Linked DNA regions of Homo sapiens: regions 1, 2 and 3 are each linked to region 4. Evidence: promoter capture Hi-C in 16 types of primary human blood cells and fetal thymus (Javierre and others, 2016). All regions are on one chromosome and are shown on one strand. Each heading gives the region's core, a stretch centred on a gene start or on the middle of the fragment in contact. The rest is flanking DNA. Distances are from core to core; before and after follow the strand shown.

Region 1 (3,945 bases), core at 720-3,219, 550 kb before region 4:
CTTGGGATGGTAGTAGCTGCTTACAGAACTGTACTGAGAAGGATTTTTAAGATGGGTCCAAAACAAAAGGAAAAAATGCAGTGATAGACGACAGTGTCCACCATGGGCAAGGAGGGGACGGAGAAGGCCTGGGGGCCACTAATTTTATTGGCATCCTCAGCTCAGAAATTTCACCCAAGCACAAATTTCTGAGATTAGCAGCCAACATCCAAAATCAAGACACAATTATAATTAGGCTACGTGTATGTAGTAAACATTCTAAGGAAGATCTGGGTTTCATAGAGAGCAAAGGTCAGCCAAACCCTGGCAGTAATTAAGCTGAAATGTGTAAGAACATGTAGAAACACCACCATCCTCACAATCAATTCTTCAGCCAGTGGGAAGCTTTACCTGATGTCCTTGGGCAGTTCTGGCAACTGCATCTTCTTCATCATGGCATAGTGTGAGATGGCCAGGACAGCCATCCCTAGACACTCGTTCTCAATATCATGTCCATCCTGCTCGGTCTTGGGGTCTCGAATAGGAGCCAGGCATTTCACCAAATCATACTGTCCCTAGGAGCAAGGGGGAGAAACCATGAGAGCCCACCCGTTTTTGATCTTGACAAGAAGGCTACTACACAGGGAGGGGCCGCCTAGAAACGCAGCACAGCAACGAGACGAATCAGATTGGCAGTTTCTCTAGCATCAGAGCTCTTTTAAACAGAGTTGGGTGTGAAGGGGCTCAGGAGATGTTCTCCCCCGCTCATTCATTTAACAAAACATTGACTGAGCACTATGCCAGGCACTGGGGAACAGTACAGACATACGAAGTCCCTTCGCCATAGAAGTGACGCTGACAAACACTGTGTACTAGGCCTGGACTGCGCCAGAGCAAGGGAAGGTGACACTGGGCTGAGGTCTGATCATGCATGAATTCCACAAACATGCTTAGATGGCCTTGTCTAGGAGCTGGGTGTACAGAGTTGATGGGGCTCTCCCTCCATTCTGGTGTAGCTCTAGGGAAAGGGGAACGTTCCGCAGTGCATCATCACCACATGTACATTTTCCCACATCTACCGTTCGAGTTTCCCATAGTGAAATGTGTCACCAAAATATACCCCCCCACTGATGGAGGTGCACAGCATTCTAAGAACTAACGGGAACTTTAAACACAAAAACTAAAACAAGGCTAACCAGCAGTGCCCAGCCCAGCTTTGTACAGAGTGAAAACGATAATTCCAGTGCCGGCTCCCACTGATTAAACCCTGCCTCAGTGCTGCCACACAGTGCTTGGCTCCTTTATTTAGTCCTCATAACACCTTACAACGTGGATGTTAACATCGTCATCTCCAACAGATGAGGAATCTAAGGCACAAAACAGTAAACAGCCCCTATTCAGTCACTCCTTCATTTGGTAATTATTGAGAACTAATTATGGGCTAGATGTTATTCTAGGTGCTAGGGAAACAGCAATAAACTAAACCACGTTCCTGATCTCCTGGAGATTCCACTCTAAGGAGAAAGAAAAGAATAAATGACTAGGAGTATCTAACGTCAGGCAGTTATAAAACCCCAAGTCAAGTAGAAGAATTGAGTACCCTGGGGGCCCAGGGCTTAGCAAGTGGTAGGCTGGGATTAAATCTAGACCTGGCCAGGACCACTGTTCAATGCCGTGCTACAGCCACATTCGGTTTTCATCAAATGACTTAAAGTACATAGAACACTAAAGTGTGAACTCTTAAGCCTTTCTCCAGCTTGGAGCAGGGCAGGCACAAAGCCTGGGAGAAGTGTTCCTGCATATGTGAGATGCTCTCTTTCCCTGAAGAACTTCAGATTAATGGTTTTTGGATGGAGGGCTCCCACTGCTCCCGTTTCTCTTCTTTTCACCATGGGATATCTTGTTTCTCTCAGGTGAGGAAAGGTCACTGACATTCCAAAAACTTCTGAGGAACAATGATCTATGCCAGTAATGTGTGAAGAGCAAAGGAAAACCTGAAACTGTCCTGTTGGCCTGTGGTTTTTTTGTAAACATTCACTGTACAGCTACCTCAAGTCACTTATTCCTGAGCCTCCAAAAGGTCAATCTAACGCCATGCTTATTCTTCAAGTATGGCACACTCTTCCTTTACACCTCTGCTCCCGGGAAAGGTAAAGAATAAATCTCAGCTATGGATACACAAAACTGGGAAGCTGAATCCAAAAAGACCATCTAAAAATGGCCAGTTCATTTTCTTTTTTTCCACACAGTATCTGCCTGGGGCTGTGCACTGTCCCCTTTCTCTGTTGTCTCTATGGCAGTTCTAAGGCATAGATGGAATGGAGATAATGGACAATTAGTAACTAAAGCCCTACAGTGGGACATAACTCTGACACAGATATACTGATACGTGTGTGATCTCACACATAATGGTATACTCTAAGGTAATAATAAACAGAACGTGTACAGGACCACCTACGTATGCAGTTGTTCACAACAGACTATAAAGTAATAGCATAAAAGGGAAAACGAGAAAAACAGAAAATGTCCAGGAACGGGTGACTAAGTTAAATAAATGACGGCTTTTCCTCTGGACTCCAGCCTCATTACTCAATTTCCTACTTGAAATCTCCACTTGTATGTTTCACAGGCATCTCCGAAAAAGGACTCCTGATTTCTGCCCCTTCCCCACCCTCTTCCCCCAAGACCTTCCCTGTGTGGGGAATGACTCCATTATCCATCCGACATCACCCAAAACAGAAACCCAGTCATCATCTTTGATTCCTCAAATTCTCTCAGCTTCCACATCCAACTCAACAGCAAATCCTATCAATTCTATCTTCAAGATGAACAGCAGATCTACTCATTTTGCTCCACTGCCACTGTTGCTACACTAGGCCAAACCAGCATTTTCTCTCCCAGGATCATTGCTGCAGACTCTCAGCTTGTATGTTTCGAGTGTACTCTTGGACCCAGCACAATCTGCTTTCCACGTGTAACAAGAATCATCGACTTGAAACATACATAAAATGAAGCCTTCCAAATGGCTTCCCACCACACTCAGGGTTAAAGCATAACCCCTTGCCAGCTCCTACAAGGCTCTGTGTATGCAATCTGCCCCCACCTGCCTCTCCAGCCTCGTTCCCCATCACCCTCCTCTGGTCTGCAGCCACATGGTCTCTCCTTGCAGCTCTACTGGCCCTCAGGGCCTTCCCCCATTCTGTTCCCTCTACATCAGATCTTTTCAACTGAGGCTGAGAGGAGAGTCGGCAATATTGAAGACATTTTTGGTCATCACTGCTAAGGAGAGAGTGCTACTGGCATCTACTGGGTGGAGGCAGGGATGCTGGTAAATACCCTACAATGCATAGGGCAGGCCATCACAGCAAAGAATCATCTGGGCCAAAAGGTCAGTAGTGCTGCTGCTGAGACACTCTACATGGAAGAAATAGTCCCCCACCCCTCTCTTAGAATTGCAGATTCCTTTTTATTCTTCAGGATTCATTATAAATGTTACCTCCTTAGAGAGACCTTCTCTGATCATATGATTTAAATTAGGTCTTCCCATTCAAACCCCCCTGTCCATATTCTCTATTGCAAGCTTCTGCTTTCACAGTACTTTCCATAATTTCTTACGTATTATCTATGTATCATTTTATTTGCTTGTTTTCTAACTTGATGTACATCTGATGCATGCAGAGGCCATGTCTGTCTTGTTCACTCCAGCATCTCCAGCATCTTAGCAGGTACAAGTGCCTGAGGCAAATAGTACGCAGACATCCAGTCAATATTTGTTGAATAAATGAATTGTTACAAAGTCATTAAAACAACGAAGATCAATATTTTAATTGACATTTGAAGGACAAACAATAAAAAAAATCAGATGAATAAAAAAGCAGTTTACAAAACAAAATGAACCATAAAATATTTTCAAAATCTATACAGTATCTAAATTTGCATGTTAAAATCAGGAAGCATACTACTAAA
Region 2 (3,623 bases), core at 1-2,500, 670 kb before region 4:
TGGGATCGGGGGCGCCTCAGAGCGGTCCTGGGGAGTGGGTCGGCGCCGAGTGGTGAGAGCGGCCCCTCGGTTTGACTGAGTTCTTGGGGTTTCTAGCCTGCAGACGCCCTGCCAGGGAGGGGGGCAGATTGGGAAACTGAGGCTCTGAGTGGCGAAGCGGCTTCTCCAAGGTCACGGGAATCAGGGGCTGCTGCCTCCAAGTTCGGCCCGGTCTTTCCTTCCCCTACGGCCGTAGAGGAGTAGGAGGTGAAGGAGAGTGGAGGTGAGTTGTGGAGCACACATTTTGCGGGGGGGAGCGGGGGTAGAGGGGGCCGAAGCTTCGGGAGCACCTTGGCAGGGGCGAGGGCTCCAACGTATAGTCCCCGGTGCTCGGGAGTGCCATAGGGGGCAGGGGCACGAGAGAGCTGGGAGTGAGTTTCGCTGTTGTTGCAGAAGCACTTGCCCAAGTTTCTATGAAACAACTCTGTCTTCTCAGTTTGCTAAGGCCCCAGAATAGAGTTATTGCTGCGCTCCTTGGAGCCTTGCAGCCGCCTCCTGCTACGCCAAGTACAGTACTGGAGGGTTTGTTCTCAGTGACTTGGATGAGGTTTAAAGATAGCTACTCTGTGTATTTAATCCAGATTAACTGTTGCTTTTAAGATTAGAAACTCTGCATCTATTTAACTTTTTTTTTCCCCTGATTTCAAAAGCTGCATGCTCATTGTAGGAGAGCTAGGAAAGACAGAGAAGCACAAAGGGGACACAGAAATTACCCATATTTCTGATACCTGAAGATAACCATTGTTATCCTGGGATGTTGTTCTTTTCTCTTTTCCTATGCATATATATTTTTGTTTTATCAAAAGCTTGAAATCATTTCTTTGATTCTTCAGGATTTCTTAGCTGTCTGGATGTTCACACATGTTTCACATATAACCTGAATTTATATACTGCTCCGAGTGTGGTGGGCTGTCCTGGTAGTTGCGGATTTGTAGTTCCTCCTGTAACCGGATGCATGAAATTGCAAGAGGGCTGGCTATTGACAATTGCATGGCAGTTCTTCCATGTGACTTATAAAATAATGAGACCAATGCCCCATTACTATGTAATGAGACCTTACATAGCCATTCACAATAAATATGAACATATAACCTTATAACCCGTAGGCATGGGGGGCTATTTTGTTTCAAAATGCAGTGTCTGTCAGTATTGTTTATCTCATCTGTCTTTCAACTCTTTCCATTCCGCCATGGTCCACTTCCCATCTGTCAGGTAATGTTTTGTGATACTACCTGTTAAGGACACCTGCAATGGACTGATTTCTTGGAAGCAGCCTCCCCTGCCCATACAAATAGAGGACTGTAAGGGAGCTCAGGAAGGAGGAGGCTTGGAAGAAGCAGATGGCATTTTTTAAAAAAACAAATTTAAAAAATAGCAGCTCTTTGTATAGACAGTCTAGGAGGAGAGAAATAGAGAAGTATCTCAATGTCTTTGTAGAATGTCAGCTGTTTTTGTTATCACAATTCCTTGCATTAATTCTAAATATATTTAGACCCCAAATTGAAGACGTTCTGTCTATTCTTGCTTTGCTGTTGGTATCTTTCTCATTTCCCTTCGCAATAGACATGAAAAATATATCAAAGGGTCTAATAAAAGGAGCAGTTTTAATTAGTGATAGAAGCTTTCTCAGAATTACACTGGGATTTGTATTTTTGAGATTTCATCTACTTAAACTAATATTTTCATATGTTCTGCATGAATTTTTTTGTATTTTTTGTTTTAACAATTTCCCTTAATTATAATGTCTGCTTTTTCTTAGTGACTATATTTTACTGTCAACTTACTGATGAAAGTTTCACTTTATTTTATTTTGTGTCTTTTTGCTAGTAAGGCCTACATAAAATCACCTGTGCTAAAACTACATATTTACCCTTATGAAATGGTTAATATGGCTTTTGTTCAATTATTAAGTAATCAGATATTTTTGAAATACTAAGTTCTTGTTCTTTTCCAGAAGAGACTGTGTTTATTCATTCATTTCTTTCTTTCTTTTTTTTTTTTTCTGAGACAGAGTCTCGCTCTGTCATCCAGGCTGGAGTGCAGTGGCGCGACCTCAGCTCACTGCAACCTCTGCCTCCCAGGTCCAAGTGATTCTCCCTGCCTCAGCCTCCCAAGTAGCTGGGATTACATAAGCCTGCCACCATGCCTGGCTAATTTTTGTATTTTTTAGTAGAGATGTGGTTTTGCCATGTTGACCAGGCCGGTCTTGAACTCCTGACCTCAGGTGATCCCACACGCCTCGGCCTCCCAAAGTGCTGAGATTACAGGTGTGAGCCACTGTGCCTGGCCTCATTTCTTTATTTTAGAATATCACTTTAAGGATCAAAGACATTCATAACTCTAGTTCTCAAACTGTGTATTTATGTCTCTAGAAAATACTGATCAATAACTTACTAGTAGAAACCCAATAATTTTTTCTTAACATTTGAAATATATGAGTGTTTTCTTTATTAAATGTAGTTTTCATAAATCTCAAATTTTGTTTTATTTTTGGTATAGCAGATTTATAATAGCATCCCACAACTTTATAGTTCCTATAATTAAAAGGCATACTGAAAGTATTTTTAACTGGAAGCTTTTAGAGGTATGTTTATCAAATACCTTATAGAAGTACCGGCTCTAAAAAAAAGTGAACACCTTTATATTAAGTTCTCAAAAGCTTTCTCACTGAATAATTACTGTGCATTCAGTCAAGCCCTGTCTGGTCTGCCTAAGCTTTCTGGAATCTTCCTGGCCCTCTTTGTTTTCACAGCCTCAGCTCTGGTTCAAGTCCTTTTCGTCTCTTGTTCACTGTTAACAACTTTTCGGTTTGTCACCTACCTTCATTACTGTCCTGTTTCTTACATTTTAGCTCCTTCTGCATGCTACTTCCCTTGAGGGATACTCCTGAAGCACAAATCTGATCATGTCACTCTCCTGCTCATAAAAAACCAGCCTTTGGCTGCACGTCCTCTCAAACTTTTCCTCAAATTGTCCTTAACAGTAAAGAACAGTGAATCTGAATTAGACTGTTGCAAGACTGAAATTGCTTTGAAGTTTTGTGTTCTGTCTGAGAATTTTATATTAATTTTATATTCTATTAGTAACATTGGATTTAACACAAAAATAGCATTTAACTCCCAATTTTTTTTCATAAACTTGACACTTATGGAAAATGTACTATATTTGACTTTTGATTCTCTGTATTTCTGTATTACCATGGAGTACACAGATATGAGTTTGAAAAGCATGAAATGATAGGACAGCAGTCTAAGATTCTTAGGCTTTTTGTGTGTTGGCCCCTGCCTACGTTTCCAGTCTCATTCCTTTTTAGTTTTTATTTATTGTTTTGAGACAGGGACTTGCTCTGTCACCTGGACTGGAGTGCGGTGGAACGATCACTGCTCACTGCAGCCTTGACCTTCCAGGCTGAAGCGATTCTCTCACCCTCTAAAGTAGCTGGGACTACAGGCATAAGCCACCATGCCAGGCTAATTTTTTTTTTTTTAATTTTTTGTAGAGACATCGTATCTCTATGTTGCCTAGGCTGGTCTTGACCTCCTGGACTCAAGCAATCCTCCTGCATTTGCCTCCCAAAGTGCTGG
Region 3 (3,626 bases), core at 69-2,568, 920 kb after region 4:
ATGCTACCCATTTAGCAAGCTGAAAGGACACAGTGCCCCCCAATGCCTGTAGCCTTGTCTGCTGTTATTGCTATTGCTGGCTCCATTCTATAAGTGAGTCAGATGATTTAGATACATATATGTTTACTAATGCAATGGGTAGTTTTTCTTGGCCAGGCTCAGTATATTATTTGTGTTCTTGTCAGGGAGAGCTACCAGTGAATTTTTTCCTGCTGTATTTTAACACTCAGGAACTGGTTGTGCAAAGTTTATTTGCATCTTTCTTGTGCATTGCATGGGAGTGTCCTTGAGAATATCTTGTAAACATTTGCTAGTATTGTTTTTTAAATATTTAAAAATCAGTATCATTTAATTTCAGAGAATTTGCTTCAACTTACTGGAATTAATTAAAAATGCTTTTGTATTTATATTTTTTCTTTTACATATTTAAAGTATTAAGATAAAGTCATTGTCTAATGTTGTCTGCCATAGTAAAATTTGCAAACTGAGAAAGGTCACATACTGCTTTTCAAGACTCTTTAGGGCCTTTAATACAGTGCTAAAATAGAAGAACTTTGTCAAAAATAAACAAAAGTATGAACTCCTTGGTAGGAGTAGATTCTCTTTGTTTTAAAAAAGTTAAATACATTGGGTTAAAATGAGCAAAATATGAGCTCCTTTTCGTAAAGTTAATAAAGGAGGAATAGAGATTAGGAAAAATTCAGAAATTTCCAATCACTGCTTTTCAAATCTAATCACATGATCCAGGACTTCATTTCCCAGAAAACTCTGCATCTGCCCGAGGGAACATTAGTTATGAGACAGTGCAGAGATTTCTAAGGCCCATTTCTTCACTTAAAGTTTATGTGCTCTCAAAGCTTCCTGTGGTACCAGGATAGAGCATTAAATAGCGTTATTCTCTTTGAGTTATAGCTGTTTCTTATTTTTGTGTTGTTAGATCCAATGTAGCATGGTAATAAAACATATTTGAAGCATCCCTTCCTGCATACACAGCGCTCTTACCTGTGTTCTCGTATGACACTCACCCTGAGGAAGGTCTTATTGTATCCCCATTTTCAGATATGAAACTGAGATTCGGGAAAGATAACCGATTTGTCCAAGTCCTTTACCTACTAAATGTCAAGACATAGAATCAAATCTTGTTCTCTTTGCTCAAAAGTTGAGCAAAGTTGTTCTCTTTGCTCAAAAGTTGAGTTAAAAATAAAAGTTAAAGGGAAATCCACAATTTATTATATTCTCGTATAACTTGTTAACAAAACATATCATCACAGAATTTTAAAGCTAGAAATCAGCGAAGTCTTGTTTTTCAGACCTCAGTTTAGATATCACCTCTTAGAAAGACCTTCTTTTATTACCCTAATTCAGCTGCTTGTTGGTTTTGCAATTTACTATCACAATTTATGGTTTTTGGTTTTGATCATGGAACTTGGTTTTTACTGATATCTTTCATTAGACTGTAAAGTTACTGAAGACATGAATTGTGTCTACCATGTTCACTAGTGAAGCCCCAGCAGTTACACTAGCTGTAGACACATGGTAGGCATTAGAATAAATATTTTTTGATCAATTGCATGAGGTTCAGAAACTTAATCTAATTTGTCCAAGACCAAGTATTTGTTAGTGATAAATCCATTAGAACCCTGGAATCCTGTTTCCTGTTGTGCGGCAATGGCTACATGTAGGGGCCTGCCATGCCTAATTCCAGCTTTCTAATTGTTAGGTTGCATGAGAAACCCTCATCTGGTTCCCAATGACCCCCAAAGTACCCTGAAAAAAGGGAAAGCTTATTCCTACCCTTCTCTTTCATCCAGAGTCAGATAACAAAGAACAAAGTTGTCAGGGACCAGTGCTTTCTTCCTGTGAGCAGAAATGTGAAGCATGGTTTTGGTTGGGGTTTTTGTTTGTTCGGTTGGCTTTTGGTTCAGTTTTGCAATATTTGGCTTACTATTCTCTCAAAAAGTCTGCATCCTGTGGACAAGAATCTAAGCCCTTTGGAGACTAGCAATGGCTATTCCACACTCTCTGGGGAGCCTATTTATGAGCACATGTGTTTGTAATTCAGCCACTCTCCATATCTGTTGGAGAATAGCAGCCTAATTATCTGCCATCATTTGGTTATGTTTTTCATTCCTGGCATATTGGTGACACTCCTCTCACCTGAGCCACATATTCAATTAATTCATATGTGTTACCACATTGATCTTAACTGTGAAAATCTGAGCAAAATGCATACTTGGTGCAGTTATCCTCATGTCAGGTAGTCTGTGGTCAGTCACAGCTTTTAGTCAATAGATAAAAAGTTGTAAAGTGTCTTAATTTGAGAAAATTGGCTAAACCAAAGAAGCATGAATGGATAGTTACCAACAGCTGGATTTCTCCAAATAGACTCTTTTTTTACGGTTTAACTTAAGCATAAGACCATTTTGAGTTATGGTGCTTTTCATTTGACTTGCTTCATCTATCTTTCTGGCAATTCTTGTTTACGCTCCTTAGACTGGTGAATAATCTAAATGTCAACCAGAGAGTCTGAACTTCTATGAGTAACTCATGTGTCACATAATCTATGTGACATAGTAGTGCATCACACCTGCAGCAGCATGCTATGGGAATTCTGTAATTAATTATATATGCTGCTGTCAACAATGAAAAGAAGGTGTTCAAGTATCAAAGAACCAACTGAAACTTCCACCCAAAAGCAAAGCCAAAGTGAGAAAGGTACCATGAGCTCAGATTATTTTGAAATTTACAGATAAAACCTAGCTTCAAGTACAAATCCTGTGGAAGAAAGAGCACACACTTGGTCTCAGACACCTTGGCAGCCACTTCACATATGTTATTCCTAATCTTCCCATTTCAAAGATAGAAAATTCTAGTCTCTAAGAGACTCAATGACTTGCTAAGTTTCTCAGACTAAGTTACAGTACATATTTTATTTCCAGACTCAGTTGAATTCTCAGATGCTCCTATGTCATATTTTATTTCCGGACTCAGTTGAATCCTCAGATGCTCCTATATCATGCTGTTATGACGTTGGGTTAGCTGAGGTCACTGGTAAGGCAAACCTGCAACCAGCACTCCCTCTACTTCATGTTTGCAGTAGAAGCTGCCTCTATAAACCTTCCGTGAACCTAACAAACCTATGCATCTTGAGGTGCATTGTTGTTCAAAGCATCTCTCCATCTCTTCTAAATTATGATAGCTAATAATGGAAAACACAAAATACATAACAAGCCCAACTACCTTTTTTAATAGGATAAAATTGCATAAGAAATAGCTGTCTATGAAATTTATGTCTATTTTATGTTATGAAACTATTTTCATCTTTTATAGTTTTAGTTAATAGTTTATGTGTGCAAACCTCCAACCTGTTACAAATTTTCCTCAATTTGCCGGTGCATACTCTAGCTTAGGGATTACTGAAATATCAAAACAGATAATAATATATATGCTTTCAGGGAAGGAAAGGATAGATCTATGTAGTCCAAAGCTTTCTTTTATTTTTTTGATAGGCCCTAGAGTTGATCTTGAAAATTGCCAGATTAATAGGCTGTCCCAGCCCTGAGAAATCGCTAATCTAGAAGTGGCAATTCCCAAGGCAGGTTTTGAAGCATTCCATTGTCTTTTAC
Region 4 (3,668 bases), core at 109-2,608:
GAGGGGAAGTGGCCCAGAATCCAACCTCCTCCAAAGAGCTGTGTGACAGGCAAGTCCTATCCTTTCTGCACCTCTTTCCTTAAATGTAAGTTGAAGCATTTGGACCAGACTGTTTCAATGATCTTCTAGATTGCTTTTGCCAAAACAGAACTCTCCATTCCTGTAAGATAAGTACACAATGGCTCTCAGAGATCTAAAAACTGGCCTTGGTTACCTGCAAACTTTGAGGCCCCAAGGCACAAAAATAATAGCTTTTTTTTTTTATTTTTTTTTTTAAGGTTCATGAAAGCTTCGGACACAAAAGCTTATATGGTCTTCGTCTCTATAAATAAACCAGGGAGTAAAGAAAAACCCCGCTAGTTTCAGTAAAGCGTTGCTATTAAGCAAAGCAAACCTATGCAAATATCAAGTTCTTAATGAGGAGTGTTTCCTAAGGGGCCTGTCCTCTGGTACCCCGCCTCTCCTCTGCCACAGTCATGTGAAGGCAGACAGGCACACACTCGCACACTAGCACGCACTTGGGAGCTCAGGGAACATAACACTGGTTAGTGAGTCGGTGTCCCTCTCCCATCGATTGCAACTTTTCCCCTCCTTCCCTCTCCTGCCTCTCCCCACTTTCTACATCTCCGTTCTCAGGAAGGCTCAGGGAGGATCCCCCGCTGCGTGCACTGCGTTCTGAGAGGCCGGGGAGAGACTCTGGGCCCGCGGTCGGGGCGGAGCCAAGGTCCCAACCCACATTGAACGGGCTTGAGGATTACTTGGAGGGCTCAGGATCTAGGAGGAGGGCCCAGGGCACTGGGTTGGGGTTACTCTGGGAAAGCTCTGTGGGACCAGGTGGGACCTTAGGGCTGGAGATGGACTCTGCGAGCTGGGGGCGGAGTTCTAGACTGGCAGGAGCGGAGTTCTGGGTGGCGGGGGCGGGGTCGGGACCAGCAGGGACGGCCTCTGAGAGTTGGGGGCGGAATTCTGGGCCGGTGAGGGCTGGGGCGGGACCAGCAGGGGAGGCCTCCGCGAGCTAGGGGAGGAGCTCTGCATTGTCTGGGGCGGGGCTTCGAGTAGCGGTAGCGAGGTCTGGAGCCGCAGGCGCTGCCTCCGCGAGGTAGGGGAGGAGCTCTGTACTGTCAGGGGCGGGGCTCTGAGTAGCGAGGCCGGGTCTGAACTATCAGGCGCGGCCTCTGCGAGCTGGGGGCGGGGTTCTGCACCGGCGGGGGCGGGGTTGTGAGTGGTGGGGGCGGGGTCTGGAGCAGCAGGCGCCGCGTTTGCGAGCTAAGGTCGGAGTTCTGCACCGGCGGGGGCGGGGCTCTGCGTGGCCGGGGCGGGCTCGGGATCCGCGGGGCGACTCCCGGTCTGGCTTGGGCAGGCTGCCCGGGCCGTGGCAGGAAGCCGGAAGCAGCCGCGGCCCCAGTTCGGGAGACATGGCGGGCGTTAAAGGTACATCGCGGTCCCCGGCTCGCTTGTCGTGTGGTGGGGTTGCCACCTCCGTTCCGGTCAAGCCTGGGGCTGCGCCTTCCGCGCGCCGTTGGGGAACGGCCTCACCACCCTTCCCGCCTCTCCGGTTCGGGAGGCGATCGACCGCTCCCTTCGTCCCTTGGGGTGTGGGTGGAGCGGCGTTTCGGGGGAGCCTTGGCCCTTTTTGCAAGGCCGCTGGCCTTCCTGCTCTCCAGTGGCGGCACCAGACCCCTCCCCAGCCTGAGCCCTCGGCGAGAGCGGCGCCCTCCACCTCTCCTGAGTTTTTAAACAAGGTTTCCACTTCTTGACGCCACCCTAACGCCTTTCTTCTGGTTTTCTGCCCCTCCGCAGTTTCCTATTTGCCACAAAGGACCCTTTGTCTCCAGCGTTCTTAGCATTGGGAAACTTAATCCTCTTTTTCCTAATGATTTTTCCAACTGGGCAGAGTTGACCGCGGGCGGGTGTCAATGGAAAGCACCCAGAAAGACGGTGTTTCTCGCAGTCGTGGAGAGTAGATTACGTGTAATTTTAATACTGCTTTCTTCGGTGTTTTCTCTGTTTATGGACAGAGAAGAAACCAGTGTGTGTGTAGTATGTGTTTTTTGCATGGGGCAGTTGGTAAAAACACCGCGTCCCTTATCTGTATGGCTTCAGAGCAATGCGAGACGGAAAAGGTTTTTTGCAAGGCTTCCTGTATTTTGGTAGGAAAACATTCCATTTCTAATCTGTCGAATAGAGTAGCATGACTTGTTTTTATATTGGCTTTTATATCATCCTTGAAATTTGCACCCAAAGATATCCCCAGTTAACATCTGCTATAAACATGTAGATAGTATATATACGAGTACGCCTCTGTTCACTATGAATTTATCCGAGTATGTGAGCTGTTAGCAGCAGACATTTTATCGTTATTTCTGGCTGACTTTTATACTTAATATCAGTTTAGTAAACATGGTTTACTTGGAGAGTGTCGACTGTGTTATATATCCATTTGAAGCCAATGCCGAAAACAGATGAAAAGTAGTGTCTCAGTACTACACATGATCAGAAACTACCAAATCATGATCACGTTTATGTGTGAATGTGTTAGAAAATTGTGATGTAGTGAAAAAAAAGGAAGTCTGAAATGGAAACGGACTAAGGGAAGGAAGCATTTTACAGATTGTTCAACTTTTATTGAGGAACTACTGTATGCCAGAGACTTAGGATACAAAGATAAATGAGAAGTTATTGGTGGGTGACAGAGCTGGAAATAATTATATTACTATGTCAGTGTTTATGTTGGGCTCAGATGCGGTGGGAGAACAGATGGTGGGTTGGATTTTGTCCTCCAAAAAGATGTGTTCAAGCTCTAATTCCCTGGTACCTGTGAATGTGATCTTATTTGGAAGTAGTATCTTTGCAGATATAATCAAATTAAAATGATAACTGGTTTAAGGTGGGCCCTAATCCAATGACTGGTGTCCTTATAAGAAGAGGGGAATTTAGACATAGAGACATACAGGGAGAATACCATGGGAAGACGGAGACAGAAATTGGAGTGATGCAGCTACAAAGTCAGGAGCACCAAAGATTGTTGGCAACCATGCTGGCAACCACTGAGTGTTAGGAAGAGGCAAGGAAGGGTGCTTCCCTACAGCCTTCAGAGGGAGTGTGGTGGCGCTGCTGACACCTTGATTTCAGAAGTCCAGCCTCCAGAACTGTCAGAAGATAAATTTCTGTTGTTCTCAGCCATCCAGTTTGTGGTACTTTGTAACGGCAGCCCTAGGAAGCTGATGCAGGTGGGATTGATTCCCCTGCTCCAGAGAAAGGACTGTTTTCACAGAAGAGGCGATGCTTGAACTGAATCTGAAGGGATCAATGTGGCTTCCCTTGGCAAGGCATGGAGTGAAGGTGGAGTATATCCCAAGTGGGGAGGACAGCACGTGACATGGCGCAGGGCTTATGAAACAACATGCCTTCTTCTCTTCAGGTACTTAAGCTACATTAGTAAGACCAGAACTTAGTGGTGAGGGTTGAAGCTGGCTGGACAGGCAGTTAGGAGTGAGTCAGGCGATGGTGAGCCTCCGTGCCAGAACAACTTGTAGGCTGTGGAAGCAACCGCAAAGGGATGGCAGCGGTGATATATATAGTTGAAAGATCACTGTCTGCTGTGTAGAGGATGGATTGGAAGAGTCACAGAGGCAGGAATAAGAGGTTAAGGGCCTGCACCAGGGCTG

The links. Contacts are between HindIII fragments. The CHiCAGO score rates a contact against its expected background, and 5 or more counts as called.
Region 1: a fragment that was not itself captured here is called in contact with the fragment with the promoter of LEPR in region 4 in 1 of 17 cell types (monocytes); the score reaches 5.4 in monocytes.
Region 2: a fragment that was not itself captured here is called in contact with the fragment with the promoter of LEPR in region 4 in 1 of 17 cell types (total CD8 T cells); the score reaches 6.2 in total CD8 T cells.
Region 3: a contact is called between a fragment that was not itself captured here and the fragment with the promoter of LEPR in region 4, in 1 of 17 cell types (non-activated CD4 T cells). The highest score is 6.0, in non-activated CD4 T cells.

Annotation. Positions count from the first base shown.
Region 1 is chr1:64,868,921-64,872,865 of GRCh38, forward strand. JAK1 (Janus kinase 1) reads right to left here. Exons shown (of 25, transcript NM_002227.4): 6 at 391-554. Among named protein-coding and RNA genes, the nearest start is that of JAK1, 96 kb to the right of the region's middle. The HindIII fragment of the contact is 3,175 bases long and covers 383-3,557 here.
Region 2 is chr1:64,745,487-64,749,109 of GRCh38, forward strand. All of the region lies in intron 1 of RAVER2 (ribonucleoprotein, PTB binding 2), which reads left to right. Among named protein-coding and RNA genes, the nearest start is that of RAVER2, 2.2 kb to the left of the region's middle. The HindIII fragment of the contact is 815 bases long and covers 844-1,658 here.
Region 3 is chr1:66,344,056-66,347,681 of GRCh38, forward strand. The region is part of intron 8 of PDE4B (phosphodiesterase 4B); the gene reads left to right. Among named protein-coding and RNA genes, the nearest start is that of SGIP1, 190 kb to the right of the region's middle. The HindIII fragment of the contact is 926 bases long and covers 856-1,781 here.
Region 4 is chr1:65,419,310-65,422,977 of GRCh38, forward strand. It overlaps LEPR (leptin receptor), which reads left to right and starts at 1,359. Exons shown (of 20, transcript NM_002303.6): 1 at 1,359-1,431. LEPROT (leptin receptor overlapping transcript) reads left to right here and starts at 1,359. Exons shown (of 4, transcript NM_017526.5): 1 at 1,359-1,431. The coding sequence starts at 1,416. RefSeq lists enhancers at 673-1,205, 1,206-1,739, 1,813-1,862 and silencers at 853-922, 943-1,442. The HindIII fragment of the contact is 9,332 bases long and covers 303-3,668 here.